Regions from separate parts of the Homo sapiens genome. Here region 1 is linked to region 2. Evidence: promoter capture Hi-C in human tissues and cell types (Jung and others, 2019). All regions are on one chromosome and are shown on one strand. Each heading gives the region's core, a stretch centred on a gene start or on the middle of the fragment in contact. The rest is flanking DNA. Distances are from core to core; before and after follow the strand shown. Region 1 overlaps LARP1B (La ribonucleoprotein 1B). Region 2 holds the start of PLK4 (polo like kinase 4).

Evidence for each region. Contacts are between HindIII fragments. The study calls those that stand out against the background at their distance.
Region 1: a fragment that was not itself captured here is called in contact with the fragment with the promoter of PLK4 in region 2 in 1 of the 25 tissues and cell types used here (heart left ventricle).

What each region holds. Positions count from the first base shown.
Region 1 is chr4:128,146,366-128,154,013 of GRCh38, forward strand. The region is part of intron 11 of LARP1B (La ribonucleoprotein 1B); the gene reads left to right. Among named protein-coding and RNA genes, the nearest start is that of LARP1B, 89 kb to the left of the region's middle. The HindIII fragment of the contact is 3,032 bases long and covers 702-3,733 here.
Region 2 is chr4:127,876,385-127,883,454 of GRCh38, forward strand. It overlaps PLK4 (polo like kinase 4), which reads left to right and starts at 4,509. Exons shown (of 16, transcript NM_014264.5): 1 at 4,509-4,780; 2 at 5,447-5,542; 3 at 6,878-6,973; 4 at 7,055-7,070. The coding sequence starts at 4,751. RefSeq lists an enhancer at 4,593-4,832. The HindIII fragment of the contact is 10,406 bases long and covers 2,534-7,070 here.

The sequences.
Region 1 (7,648 bases), core at 968-3,467, 270 kb after region 2:
AGTTGTTGAAACCATGTGATGTGTATATAGGACTTTGTTATACTATTCTATTTTTGTATATGTTAGAAAAATTCCAAAGTAAAGAAGTTTTAAAAGTTTGGTGGATGTTAGCCATATAATATATGCAGAAAATATGATTTTATTAATATACAGTTCCAAAACAGGGGAAATGAAATATATTGCATAGGGAAACTTTCAAAGGTAATAAATGAAAGAACAGTTAGGAAATCGGTCTTGCTAAGGTCAATATGGTGGTTTTTCTGGAGAGAAGGAGGGGAATGGGATTGGGCAGGGGCAAAAAGGGACTTCCAGGATATTGGCAGTGTCCTATTAACATAGATGGTAGTAGCATGTGGTGTTCATTGTATTAATTTTCATACCATACACATAGGTTTTATACAAGATATTTCAAAGCAGAACAGTTATTTAAAAATAGCTGGATGAAAGAATTTTGAGAGTTTTAGGTTGGCATAATCAAGGGAAGCATCCTAGAGAAGCCTAGAACTTAAAACTAGGTCCTAAATAACGAATATTCTATATTATAAAACATCTGATCTAGGACCCACTGTTATGCTTAGTATTCCTGACCAAAAATAAAGGACACAGAAGATAACTTCCATTGCAACACATTCTCCTTGATGACAGTGTCTATCCCATTGGTTCACTCATTCATTCATCTATCCATTTATTCATTTAACAGATATTTGAGTAGCTGTTAGGTGCTAAGCATAGTGATAGGCAATTTGTGAACAGTGTTGAGGAGTGATGGAGTTTCCAGTCCCCAGATTCTTTATGATTCTCAGCTTTGTTAGCTGGGACGAGAGACCTCTTTTGTATATTTGCTTTGAGGTGTGAACTAGTTAGCCCCAAACAACTGGCTGGCTTCTTTCTTGCCCTTTTTCTAAGATCGCCTGGTTTCTTTGCTCAGATTTCTGTGACAGAGTCTTTCCCTTTTTCTCACTGCTAAGACAGCGATTGAAAAATTTGCTCTTTTATACATTCTTTCAAAAAGTTCTCCCCTTGATGCATGCAAGAGTTTTGCCTTGATTATTAGGCAATATTTGGATATATGTACAAAATCAAAACAGAGAATAAGTAGTCTAGCTAGAGAAGGTAGCTGGTGGGTTTGATTTATGAAGGGGAACAGTAAAAAAGAGAAGTTGAGGACAGAAAGTAGTATGGGGTGCTCTAAGTGGGTAGATTGCCTCTTAAATAATGAAATCTGGATGTGGTTATTGCTAGAACAGTGGCTGAAGAAAATCTTGTGTTTCAAAGAAAGTGGATTGAAGAGTACTTTTTGTGACCCAGAATTCAAAATTAAAAACTTATAAAGTCAATAAATGGAAAACAAATGAGTTTCTGAAGTGTCTTCATCAAATAATAGAATTATGGCCAGTAGTAAAAAAAAGAAAAAAGAGTTATGGCCAGTAATTACAATATAATTTATAAAGTTTCTAGTCACTCCTTCACTGATAGAATACAGTAATATGTAAGCACGAATGTGTTTATTAATAGCCTGTTGATATAATTTATGAAAAAAATACAGAGTTTACAACTTTTTTTTGAAATTGGCTCCTGAGTAATAAAAAGTTTCTTGACATTGATTATCTAATGAGAGCTAAGTATGTGAATTATCTAACAGAGTTCAATATTATTTGGGAATAGGTTTTAGAGCCCTTTTAAGTTGAAAATTGAGAATGATCAAAACATTCCTAATTCTCTTAAATCACCAGTAAAATACGTATCACTTTATGCATAGCCTTACACCTTAATATGCATCTAAAGCTGGGCGCGGTGGCACATGCCTGTAATCCTAGCACTTTGGGAGGCTGAGGCAGGTAGATCACCTAAGGGCAGGAGTTTGAGACCAGCCTGGCCAACATGGTGAAGTCCCTCTCTACTAAAAATATAAAAAACTAGCTGGGCGTGGTGGTGGGCGCCTATAACCCCAGCTACTTGGGAGGTTGAGGCCGGAGAATCTCTTGAACCTGGGAGGTGGAGGTTGAAGTGAGCCGAGATTGCACCATTGCACTCCAGTCCAGCCTGGGCAACAAGAGTGAAACTCTGTCTCAAAAAAAAAAAAGCTTCTAAATATATATGTAGTAATGTAGCAGGATCATATTTATAAAATAAAGTATTGAAGTGCTTGAATTTTGAAGTACTTGAGCATATTTATAAAGATTCTAATTTGATGGGTCTTCCTGTCCATAGTCATCTTTCTCTTTAGAAGCTGATTTTTTTTTAAATTTTATTATTTTACTTTATTTTATTTATTTATTTTTGAGATGGAGTCTCATTCTGTTGCCCAGGCTGGAGCACAGTGGCGGGGTCTTGGCTCATTGCAACCTCCACCCTCGGGGTTCAAGCAATTCTGCTGCAGCCTCCTGAGTAGCTGGGATTATAGGTGCTCACCACAATGCCTGGCTAAGTTTTGAATTTTTAGTAGAGATGGGGTTTCACCATGTTGGCCTGGCTGGTCTCGAAGTCCTGACCTCAAGTAATCCACCTGCCTTGGCCTCCCAAAGTGGTGGAGTTACAGGCATGAGCCACTGCACCTGGCCAGAGGCTAATACTTAAAATAATTCTTTCTACTTTTAGTTGTTATTTCCCTATGCTTTTCAACATTTTTGAACATGAAAGGATATGGTAAAACTATACTTGTTTGGGCACTTTTCAGTGGTCAGGACATTATCGAAATGTATTCATCCTTTCGTTAGGTTTTTCTTTCTGTGCATTAACATTAGGATTTGATTACATCAATGCATACATTCATTGAGTAGAATAGCAGTGGCATTGCTGGCCCATTTAAAAAGTATTATTATTGCTAAACAAGTATAATTGAATTTCTGTAAGTTAAATGTTAGCACTACAGTACTCTGAAGATTGGGTAGGTGAGGTGGGACCAGATTGCAAAGTGTCTTGAAAGCTTTATAGGAATTTAGAATAAAGAGCAATTGCAGTTTTTATAAAGAAAGTGGAATGATCAAAATAGTGGTTTAATAGGTTTATATATGTGAGGCATTAACCTAGATCAGAATAGGGGAGGACAGAAGTTGAGTTAAAAAACCCACTTATAGTAATCCAAGGGTGAAATGAAGAGCTGAACAAAAGGAATATCGTTTATTTTCTCAACATTCATTAATAACCTACGTGAGAATGAAAAAGTGCCAAAATTGGGAAGCGATTTTAAAGAATCTGTTCATAATACCTTGTGAAAGAAGTAGGGACATTAGCAAGGAAAACCTAGGAGAGAATGATCTTAAGATCAGATTTGGAAATGTTGAGTTGATTCATGGTGTCTATTTATGTAAAATGTCTTTTGCCCTCTCTCTAAATCCTAGAGATGATAAGAAGGCCAGAAATGTAGATTTTGGAGTATTTAGTAAAGAAGGGAGACTTAAAGCAGGAAAAGTGATTGAACTTTTTAAGGTATTAAAGAAAAGGAGAGGGAACAATTGAGACAGGAAGTCCACTAGTGGTAATTTGGAGGAAAAAAATAGGTGTGGGCTGGGCGCAGTGGCTCACGCCTGTAATCCCAGCATTTTGGGAGGCAGAGGCAGGCGGATTACAAAGTCAGGAGTTCGAGACCATCCTGGCCTACATGGTGAAACCCTGTCTCTACTAAAAATACAAAAATTAGCCAGGCATGGTGGTGCACACCTGTACTCCCAGCTGTTCAGGAGGCTGAGGCAGGAGAATCACTTGAACCCGGGAGGCGGAGGTTGCAGTGAGCCGAGATCGTGCCACTGCACTCCAGCCTGGGCGACAGACCAAGACTCCATCTCAAAACAAAACAAAACAACAACAACAAAAAAGGTGTGGTTATTATATATAGTTTCACTGAAGAAGCCAAGAAAATAAATGGTGTCTGAGATTATGACCCATAAAGGGACACATTCTATCTCAACTATAGCTTTAATTTTTTTCTTTTTTTTTTTTTTTTCAGACAGGGTCTCACCCTGTTGTGCCTAGGCTGGAATGCAGTGGTGAGATCATAGCGTACTGCAGCCTCAAACTCCTGGGCTCAAGGGAGTCTTCTGTCTCAGCCTCCCTAGTAGTTGGTACTACAGGCATGTGTTACCACACCTGACTAATTTTTTACTTTTTTGTGGAGACAGTGTCTCACTGTGTTGCTCATGCTGGTCTTGAATTCCTGGCCTCAAGTAATCCTTCCACATCAGCCTCCTGAAGAGCTGGAATTATAGATGTGAGCCACTGCACCCAACCAGCTTCATCTTTTTTCCCCCACTGACTTCTTATTTTAAGGCAGAGAAAATTGCTTGAACCCGAGAAGCAGAAGTTGCAGTGAGCCAAGATTGCGCCACTGCACTCCAGCCTGGGCAAGACAGCAAGACTCTGTCTTGGGAAAAAAAAATAAATGAAGAAATGTAAAATAAAAAAATAAAAATCCCTTACTGCTGACCACCTTGGACCTACCATCAGACTGTAATTCACATTGACATGAATGGGAAGTGAGAAAGTTGAAGCACCAAGGGTTCTTTCAAGCAATTTGGCTGAAGGGAAATCCTTGTTGCTTAAGCTTCTTCTTTCTAGTCAGACCAATATGAGTTGCAGAGAAATGTAGACTTTGAAAGACAATGCCATTTTCTCACTTAATGTTATGAATATTTTTCTGTATCAGTAATATGCATCTATATTTTATTCCCTCCAAGTCTTCATTTTGAAATACTTCAAACCTTCAGAAAAGTTACATACATAATATGAGGAATGCCAGTATATTGTTCACCTAGATTTGGCAAACATCTTACCATATTTCCTTTTTTTCTATGTATAAATATATAGGTGCATATATATACATTTTTTCCTGAATCATTTGAAAGTTAGTTGTAGACATTATGTCAGCTTATCCTAAAATACATCAGCAAGTATCTCCTAAAAACAAGTACACTCTCCTACATAACCACAATTATCAAAAACACAAGAAGTTTAACATTGATAGAATGCTATTATTGAATATGCAGTTTATATTTACATTTCTCCAGTTGTCTCAGTTGTCCTTTATAATTTCTTTTATTTTTTTCTAAGTCAATTCCAGACAGGAATCACACATTGCCTTGAGAGTCATATAATTTTAATGTTCTTTCATTTAGAATAGTTGTGCTGCCTTTTTTTTTCTTTTTGGCTATTCATGACATTGATGTTTTTCAAGAGTTCAGGCCAGTTGTTTTGTCCTTCAGTTTGGATTTGCCCGATATCTTTATATGATTAGCTTCAGGTTAAGATTTTTTTTTTTTAAGGTGGAGTCTCGCTCTGTCACCCAGGCTGGAGTGCAATGGCGTGATCTCGGCTCACTGCAGGCTCTGCCTCCCGAGTTCAAGTGATTCTCCTGCCTCAGCCTCCTGAGTAGCTGGGATTACAGGCATGCACTACCATGTCTGGCTAATTTTCTGTATTTTCAGTAGAGACAAGGTTTCACCATGTTGGCCAGGTTGGTCTCGAACTCCAGACCTCAAGTGATCTGCCCACCTTGGCCTCCCAAAGTGCTGGGATTACAGGTGTGAGCCACCGCGCCCAGCCAGGTTAAGTATTTTTGACAAGAACATTACATAGGCAATGTGCCTTGTTTAGTATATGCTCTCCAGAGACATGTGATGTCAGTTACAAAATTTGATGTGGTTAGAATTGGTGATTTGGTCATTTGGTTATGATGATATCTACCAGATTTGCTCACTGTAAATGTACCTTTTCTCTTTTGTAATTAATAAATGATCCTTGGAGTGATATTTTAAAACTGTGTTCCCCAACAGTCTTTATTCAGTATTTTAGCTTCCATTGGTGATTTTTGCTTGAATCAGCTATTATGCTTATTATAAGATGGTGATTTTTTTTTTTTTTTGAGGTGGACTCTCGCTCTGTCCCCAGGCTGGAGTGCAGTGGCGCAATCTCGGCTCACTGAAACCTCCACCTCCCGGGTTCAAGCGATTCTCCTGCCTTAGCCTCCCGAGTAGCTTGGACTACAGGCGCATACCACCACGCCCAGCTAATTTTTGTATTTTCAGTAGAGACGAGGTTTCACCATGTTGGCCAGGATGGTCTCGAACTCCTGACCTCGTGATCCACCTGCCTCGGCCTCCCAAAGTGCTGAGATTACAGGTGTGAGCCACTGCGCCCGGCCAACATGGTGATTTTTATTTATTTTTTATTTTTTTATTTTTTAGGTTAATGTTTTTTATTTTTTATTTTTATTTTTTTATTTAGATGGTGATTTTTAAATTTGTTATTCCCTATATGTCTGTTAGTATTCTTCTATAAAGAAGAACTTTCCTCTCCACTTCATTTTTTTATTTTTATATTTTAATTTTCTCCCTTTTTAGTGATAGTATGGACTCCAACATGGATTTCTATCCATTCTTGTCCTCATTCATTTTGATGTTCAGAATATCTCAAACCTAGTCAGGTTAGAGCTCTCTCAAGATGGTTCCTGCTTATAACCAGCATGTTGTCATCTGTTCAGCACATTTATATTTTATGGCACAACAAAGTGGTCTTGTTGCCCTCTTCCTTTTTTACTTTTGTTTTTTAATTGTGATAAAACACACAACAGGATTTATTATTTTACAGTTTTAAGTTTACAATTTTGGTTTGCCTTTTTTTTTTTTTTTTTTTTTTTTTTGAGATGGAGTTTTGCTCTTGTCACCCAGGCTGGAGTGCAATGGTGTAACCTTGGCTCACTGCAACCTCCACCTCCTGGGTTCAAGCGATTCTCCTGTCTCAGCCTCCCCAGTAGCTGGGATTACAGGTGCCCGCCAGCACACCCAGCTCATTTTTGTATTTTTAGTAGAGACGGGGTGTCACTATGTTGGCCAGGCTGGTCTTGAACTCCTGACCTCAGCTGATCCGCCTGCCTCGACCTCCCAAAGTGTTGGGATTACAGGCATGAACCACCACGCCTGGCCTTGGTTTGCCATTTATTTATTTATTTATTTATTTATTTATTTATTTATTTATGAGACAGACTCTCAGTCTGTCGCCCAGGCTGGAGTGCAGTGGCGCGATCTTGGCTCACTGCAACTTCCGCCTCCCGGATTCAAGCGATTCTTCTGCCTCAGCCACGGACTACAGGCGTGCACCACCACGCCTGGCTAATTTTTGTACTTTTAGTAGAGATGGGGTTTCACCATTTTGGCCAGGCTGGCCTCGAATTCCTGACCTCGTGATCCATCCGCCTTGGCCTCCCAAAGTGCTGGAATTACAGGCATGAGCCACAGTGCCTGGCCAGTTTGCCTTTTAAAATGTGGTCTTCCCTGGTTTATCCCTGGCCTACTTCTCTTATTATTTTGATAGCTTGTCTAGAAATGATAGACTCTATTCTTAAGTTTTGGGTTTTTATTTATTAACTGTATGCTAATGACTCCCTTGTGTCTTTGTGGGACTCTAGAACTATATTACCGGTAGCCTACTAAATTCTCCAGTTATTTGTCTTATGTTTCATAGGCATCTTTTTTATATTCTGTCTCTCATTTTAAAAAATGAAAGAAAACCCACCCCAAACCTATATTTTTTATTTTGCTTGGATGCCTTAGGAATCCCCATCCACTTATCGTAACTTCTAACATGCAGTTTGTCACTAGGTCCTATCAGTCCTTTCATATTCATTCCTACTGCCATGCGTCATCTCTCTATAGAA
Region 2 (7,070 bases), core at 3,259-5,758:
TAACACAGCTTCCTCAGAATTACACATCACTATTCCTTAAAGTGCTGTTGAGAGCACTAGCTTTGTTCTGCATTTTCTTAAACCGTAGAAGTAACTAAAAGTTATACAAAGAGGGGAAAGGATTTTGTGTATCTCAGCTGTAATATTTACTTAATTGTAATAACATTGTAAACTCTGAATATTGAGAAACAAAAGTTACGAGGTAGCCAGGCATGGTGACTCATGCCTGCAATCCCAGCACTTTGGGAGGCTGAGGCAGGTGGATCACTTGAAGTCTGGAGTTTAAGACCAGCCTGGCCAACATGGCAAAACCCTGTCTCTATGAAAAATACAAAAATTAGCAGAGCATGGTGGCACATATCTATAATACCAGCTACTTGGGAGGCTGGGGCACAAGAATTGCTTGAACCCAGGAGGCAGAGGTTGCAGTAAGCCAAGATTGTGCCACTGCACTCCAGCCTAGGCGACAGAGGGGGACTCTGTCTCAAAAAAAAAAAAAGTTAGGCCGGACGCGGTGGCTCATATCTGTAATCCCAGCACTTTGGGAGGCGGAGGCAGGCAGATCACCTGAGGTCAGGAGTTCGAGACCAGCCTGACCAACATGGAGAAACCCCGTCTCTATTAAAAATACACAAAAATTAGCCAGGCTTGGTGGTACATGCCTGTAATCCCAGCTACTCAGGAGGCTGAGGCAGGAGAATCGCTTGAACCTGGAAGGCAGAGGTTGCAGTGAGCTGAGATCGCACCATTGCACCCCAGCCTGGGCAAAGGGCGAAACTCAGTCTCAAAGAAAAAACAAAAACTTATGAGGTAATTACATTTAGAGAATGAGGTCACAAGAACTGAGGACACAAAGGGATGAAAGTGGCCGGGCATGGTGCCTCGCACCTGTAATCCCAGCACTTTGGGAGGCTGAGGCAGATGGATCACCTGAGGTCAGGAGTTCGAGACCAGCCTGGCCAACATGGTGAAATCCCGTCTCTACTAAAAATACAAAAATTAGCTAGGTGTGGTGGCGTGTGCCTGTAATCCCAGCTACTCAGGAGGCTGAGGCAGGAGAATCACTTGAACCTGGGAGACAGAGGTTGCAGTGAGCTGAGATCGTGCCATTGCACTCCAGCCTGGGTGACAGAGCAAGTCGCTGTGTCAAAAAAAGAAAAAGAAAAGGGGTGAAAGTAAAAGCAACTAAAGAAATAGTTCCTCATCTTCCACAATAGAAAGTTAATAGAGCTAAATCTATAACTGAAAAAAATCAAAAAAGAAAATAAGCATGTTATTTAGAAATACGGTAGAATATATAAAAATGAACAGTTAAATGAATTGAAGAGGGTTGCATCTGGGAAGCAGAAATGCAGAGTTTGTATGCTTGTTATTAATATTTGTTATAAAACAATTTGATTTTTAAAATTATGTATATATGGTAACAGTGATTAAATAGAAATTTAAGGTAGTAGGAACAACTATGTGAAATTAGATTAGAATTGGTGATATCAGCTTGAACTCATGATTACTAATATTTTTTTCTTTAGTTTCATCTGCTGAAAAGGCATAGATGCAATGACACCTAAGTCGCAATAAGCTTGCTAAGCTCCCAGATATTGTTTTTTAAGCACCATTTTCTACTGTAAGGTGTCAGGACACTTTGCAGAAATGGCTCCTTTCAGTGCTGGGTGAGAGAAAGCCCAAAATAAAATTAGAACATCTTGTTGTACCAGAAAGTAAAGAACTGCTTTTATATATATATGTCCTATCAAAACAGCTAGGTTGAAAGGAGCTCTCACTAAACAAATCTCAGACACTTTGAACACCAAAATAAGATGGTAATGGATTATAATCCTTTGAGGAAATGGATTATAACTGATTCAATAATCTGGGAATCCCTAAATTCATACTGAAAACACAGATGTTCCTTGAATTATGAGGGGGCTACATCCCAATAAATTCATCATGAGTCAAAAATATCCTAAGTCAAAAAATGCATTTAATAGCCTTATAAATACATTGTAAAGACAAAATATCATAAATTGTACCATCATAATAATAAGTTGGGGACCATCTGTATATCATTAAACAGGGCAAAATGTAGGGCTCTTCTGGTTGTTTTTTGTTTGTTTGTTTGTTTGGAGACAGGGTATCGCTCTGTCGCCCAGGCTGTGGTGCAGTGGCATGAACCTGGCACACTGCAGCCTTTGCCACCCAGGCTCAAGTGATCTTTCCACCTCAGCTTCCTGAGTGGCTGGGACCACAGGTGCAAGTCACCTCCCCTGGCTAATTTTTGTATTTTTTGTAGAGACTGTGTTTCCACTATTTTGCCCAGGCTGATCTGGAACTCCTGGGCTCAAGCGATCTGCTTGCCTCAACTTCCCAAAGTGCTGGGATCACAGACTTGAGCCACCACACCAGGCGGGGCTCATCTTTTTGGCAAAATTGTTTCTAATACATATGGAAAGAGAACAATTATCATTTTGTAACTATCATAGTAAAGACTAGTTTAGGAAAAATCAATAATACTGCTAAATTGTGAGAGAGGGGTTTGCTGAGGAGCAGAATATTTGCAGGAAATTCAAGTGTCTCCCCCATAGATTGCTTATTAGTTGCAAGTAGAAAACCAGCAATTTATACAGTGGAGAAACTGGGATCAAATTAACATCACTAATGAGAGACAAACAATATCACGTGCCTCCAAATGTGGTCTCTTGGAAAGAATATAACCTCATGTATGTAATATTACAATCAGGAATACATAACCTGAATCTAATCATGAGGAAACACGAGACAAACCCAAAGTAGGGAAGATTCTGTAAAATAACTGGCCCTTAACACACACACACACACACACACACACTCCTAAGAGTGGTGACAATGTGTTAATTTGATTGTTGTAATCATTTCACAATGTATATGAAATCATCATGCTGTACAACTTGAATAAATACAATTTTTGTCAACTATACCTCAGTAATACTGGAATGAACAAATGAACGAATGATAAATAATTGGCCTGCACTCTTCAAAAATCTCAATGTCACAAAAATACAAATGCTGAGGAACTCTTCCATATTAAAGGAAATTAAAAAGATATGGTAACTAAATACGGTATGTGATCCTGTACTAGATCTATACTGGAAGGAAAAAATGTTAAATAAAGACATTACTGGAACAATTGACAAATCGGAATATGAACTGTAGATTAGATTAAATATAAATATTGTATCAATGCTAAATATCCTTAATTTGATAAACATACAAGAGGATACCCTGGTTCTTAAGAAATTCACACTTTAGAAATAAGGGGTATAAGAGCATAGTGTATGTAACCTATTTTAGAATGATTCATAAAATACAAATAATAGGCTTATTTATATATTTATACATGTATATTACACATGAAGAATAGTAAAAACAAGTGTGGCAAAATGTTAAGAATTGGTTAATCTGAGTAAAGGACAACAGGAGTTCTCTATTATTTTTACAACTTTTCTGTAAGCTTAAAATTATTTGAAACTAAAAAGTTTAAAAAAAAAAATGGGCCGGGCATGGAGGCTCACGCCTGTATTCCTAGCACTTTGGGAAGCCGACGCAGGCGGATCACCTGAGGTCAGGAGTTCGAGACCAGCCTGGCCAACATGGTGAAACCCCGTCTCTACTAAAAATACAAAAATTAGCCAGTCGTGGTGGCGCGTACCTGTAAATCCCAGCTACCCGGGAGACTGAGGAAGGAGAATCGCTGGAACCCAGGAGATGGAGGCTGCAGTGAGCCGAGATCGAGTCACTGCACTCCAGCCTGGGCGACAGAGCGAGACTCCATCTCAAAAGAAAAAAGAAAAAGAAAAAGAAATACACACTAACATCAAGGAAAAGAGCTTTCACTTAATAACAGAAGATCTAAGTTTGTGCGCTACTTCTGTTTGTTAAATATCCTTCCTTAAGCATCACACTTTTCTCACCTGCAAAACACCATCCCAAACTTACAGAGGTCTCTTTTGATCCATACAAATTATGTGTATGAGAGATCTAACTGTAAATTATTATACAAATGACATTATAATATTAAATACTTAGGAGTTTGCCAAAATAAAGAATGGAGTTCGTTTTCTTAAGGTACCGTACACATTAACTACAGTTATAACAAACTACGGAATAAGCGGTAGTGGTGTAAACGGTGTTCCTTAAAGGAAGGTAATGTTTTTTGCCCTGTTCCGTCAAGTCTTAAACGCTTGACATTTTAAAATAGTTTTAAACCCTTTCCGGAATTAGAAGTGGTATTTCGGACCGTGAAGTAACCGATCAGCCATAAGTGTCCCATCTTTAAGGCCTGCTCTTTTACCCGTCTTGCAGAAGTTCTTCCGAGAGTGGGCCCGAGACAGCCTCCCGCCCGAACTAAACTCTCCGCAGCGCTTCCGGCCCTTGGCCCCGAAGTCTAGAACCCTGGGCCGGCCGCAAAGGAAGGTCTGCCGCGCATGCGCGCCCCGGCGCAGCCTATCCGGAGCGATCCATCTCGTTACGTCACCACCAGCCTAGCTCGGACGGCAAGCGGCGGGAGATTTTCAAAATGGGAGCCCAGAGGCACCGCCCAGGCCTCGGAAGGTGTCAGGGAGAACTTTCCGTGGTTTCAGCGTCGTCGCCTGGAGCGGCGGTTTAGAGAGCCGAGCCTGATGGGCGCCAAGGCCGGCTGGCTGCTTGGAGCGCTGCCTCGAAGGGACTGCGTGAAGGAAGCTAATCCGGAGAACCCAGGCCAGAGCCTGGAAATATGGCGACCTGCATCGGGGAGAAGATCGAGGTGAAAAGACTCGGCAGTCTGCAGCGGGGCGGGTGGGAGTAATTGTGGGAGGACACGAGACCGCTGTGGGAAGGGGAGCGAACGAAGCTAACGGCTGCGGGGCGGGCACCGAGGTGCTTAGGGAGGGTCCCAACGGCCCAGACCCCTGCTGTTTAGGGGCGGAGCGGCCCGCCCCTCAAGAGACAAGAGTAGGGAAGGCGGGACAGGTGAGTCCCTCCCCGCCCGGCAGTGTCCCGAGGCACTGCGGCTTTCTTTCAGCAATCCCGCCCGAGCTACCGCGTTAGAGCAGGGCAGGGCTACCTCCCACTTCTCCAAGGGGATGGCGGTTATCTCCGGCGGGAGCTGCGGCGGGATTCTGACCGAGCCCTCCGCTCCCGGGGATTGGCTGGAGATGGGAGGAGGGCGCTTAGGCTGCACTGAGGTTGAGGAACCAGATCACTAGGGTGCACCATCACCCTGAGCTTCCAGTCCAGCCTGGAAGCGCAGGTATCCCCGCACGGAGTCAACATGCCTTCCACCCTAGACACCTGCTGCATCGAGGTGTAATACCCGCTTGAATTTTGTCAAATTCCCCACTCGATCCATTTTATCTTCTTTTTCCAGCCCCTTCCCATCTTCCTTTCTACTGTGAGTCATCACACATAATCTTTAATTTTAACTTTTAAGGATTTTAAAGTTGGAAATCTGCTTGGTAAAGGATCATTTGCTGGTGTCTACAGAGCTGAGTCCATTCACACTGGTTTGGAAGTTGCAATCAAAATGGTAAGAATAAACTAATCAACTTCTCTCCTGTACTTTGCAAGTAACTAGAGAGGTATCAGAGATGTCAGAAACTCCTTGTCTACTAGCCTTTCCTTTGATTATAGTGTAAGGAACACTTTACATAGGCAGAAGACAATAGTGCCAAGTCCAGCCGTTGAACTTAAAAATATTTTAGGAAAGCCTTGACCTTGCTTAAGTAAGTTTTATCTTCATTAATGTTCAGTAGACCTCGTATGTGGTGTAATTATCCATACTTGGAGTAATGAGTAGAAATCAACTAACAAATAATTTGTTTATAGTTCACTGTGTATAATTTTGTATTTCCCTGTAACATACAAAATATTATTCTTGATTGTTAGAAGTCAGCCTAATAGGAGTAACATAAACATAAGCAAATTAAGAATTATTTGTCAGCCGGGTGGGTGGCTCACACCTGTAATCTCAACGCTTTGGGAGGCTGAGGCAGGTGGATCACCTGAGCTCAGGAGTTTGAAAACAACTGTGCAACATGGTGAAACCTCCTCTCTACCAAAAATACAAAAATTAGCTGCTGCTGGGCACGGTGGCTCACGCCTGTAATCCCAGCACTTTGGGAGGCCGAGGCGGGTGGATCACCTGAGGTCGGTAGTTCAAGACCAGCCTGACCAACATGGAGAAACCCCATCTCTACTAAAAATACCAAATTAGCCGGGTGTGGTGCTGCACACCTGTAATCCCAGCTACTCTGAAGGCTGAGCAGGAGAATCGCTTGAACCCGGGAGGCAGAGGTTGTGGTGAGCTGAGATCGCGCCATTGCACTCCAGCCCAGGCAACAAGAGCTAAATTCCCATCTCAAAAAAAAAAATTAGCCAAGCGTGGTGGCATGTGCCTGTGGTCCCAGCTACTCAGGAGGCTGAGGTGGGAGGATAGATTGTGCCTGGGAGGTTGAGGCTGCAGTGAACTGTGATCATGCCACTGCACTCCAGCCTAGGTGACAGTGAGACCCTGCCTTTAAAAAAAAAAAATCATTTATCTAAACCACTTAGAAAAAGAACTGGAGGTTTTGCTCTAAAATTTGCCTGAATTGGGATTTTTTTTTCTTAATAGTTAGGCTAGTTGTGCTATTAGATTATTTAAATTGAGATAGGATATTAGAATTAATTGGTCAAACTTTTACCAAGCACCCTCTCTGCCGAGCACTCTGCTAGGTGCATGGGGAAAACAGATAACAGTAGGTTGACCACAAAGACGTATAAAAGGACTTCAGTCTATTTTAAAGTATACTTTATTTTCAAAGTTCACTTTTAAGCAGTTTATATTTGAAAGTCTGTCAACATTTAAACCTGTTATTTTTAGATAGATAAGAAAGCCATGTACAAAGCAGGAATGGTACAGAGAGTCCAAAATGAGGTGAAAATACATTGCCAATTGAAACATCCTTCTATCTTGGAGGTAAGATATAAATTTTGTAGAAGTGACCAAGGACACTGAATTTTTGTATATTTTAATTTATTATGCCCTTTCACATTTCAGCTTTATAACTATTTTG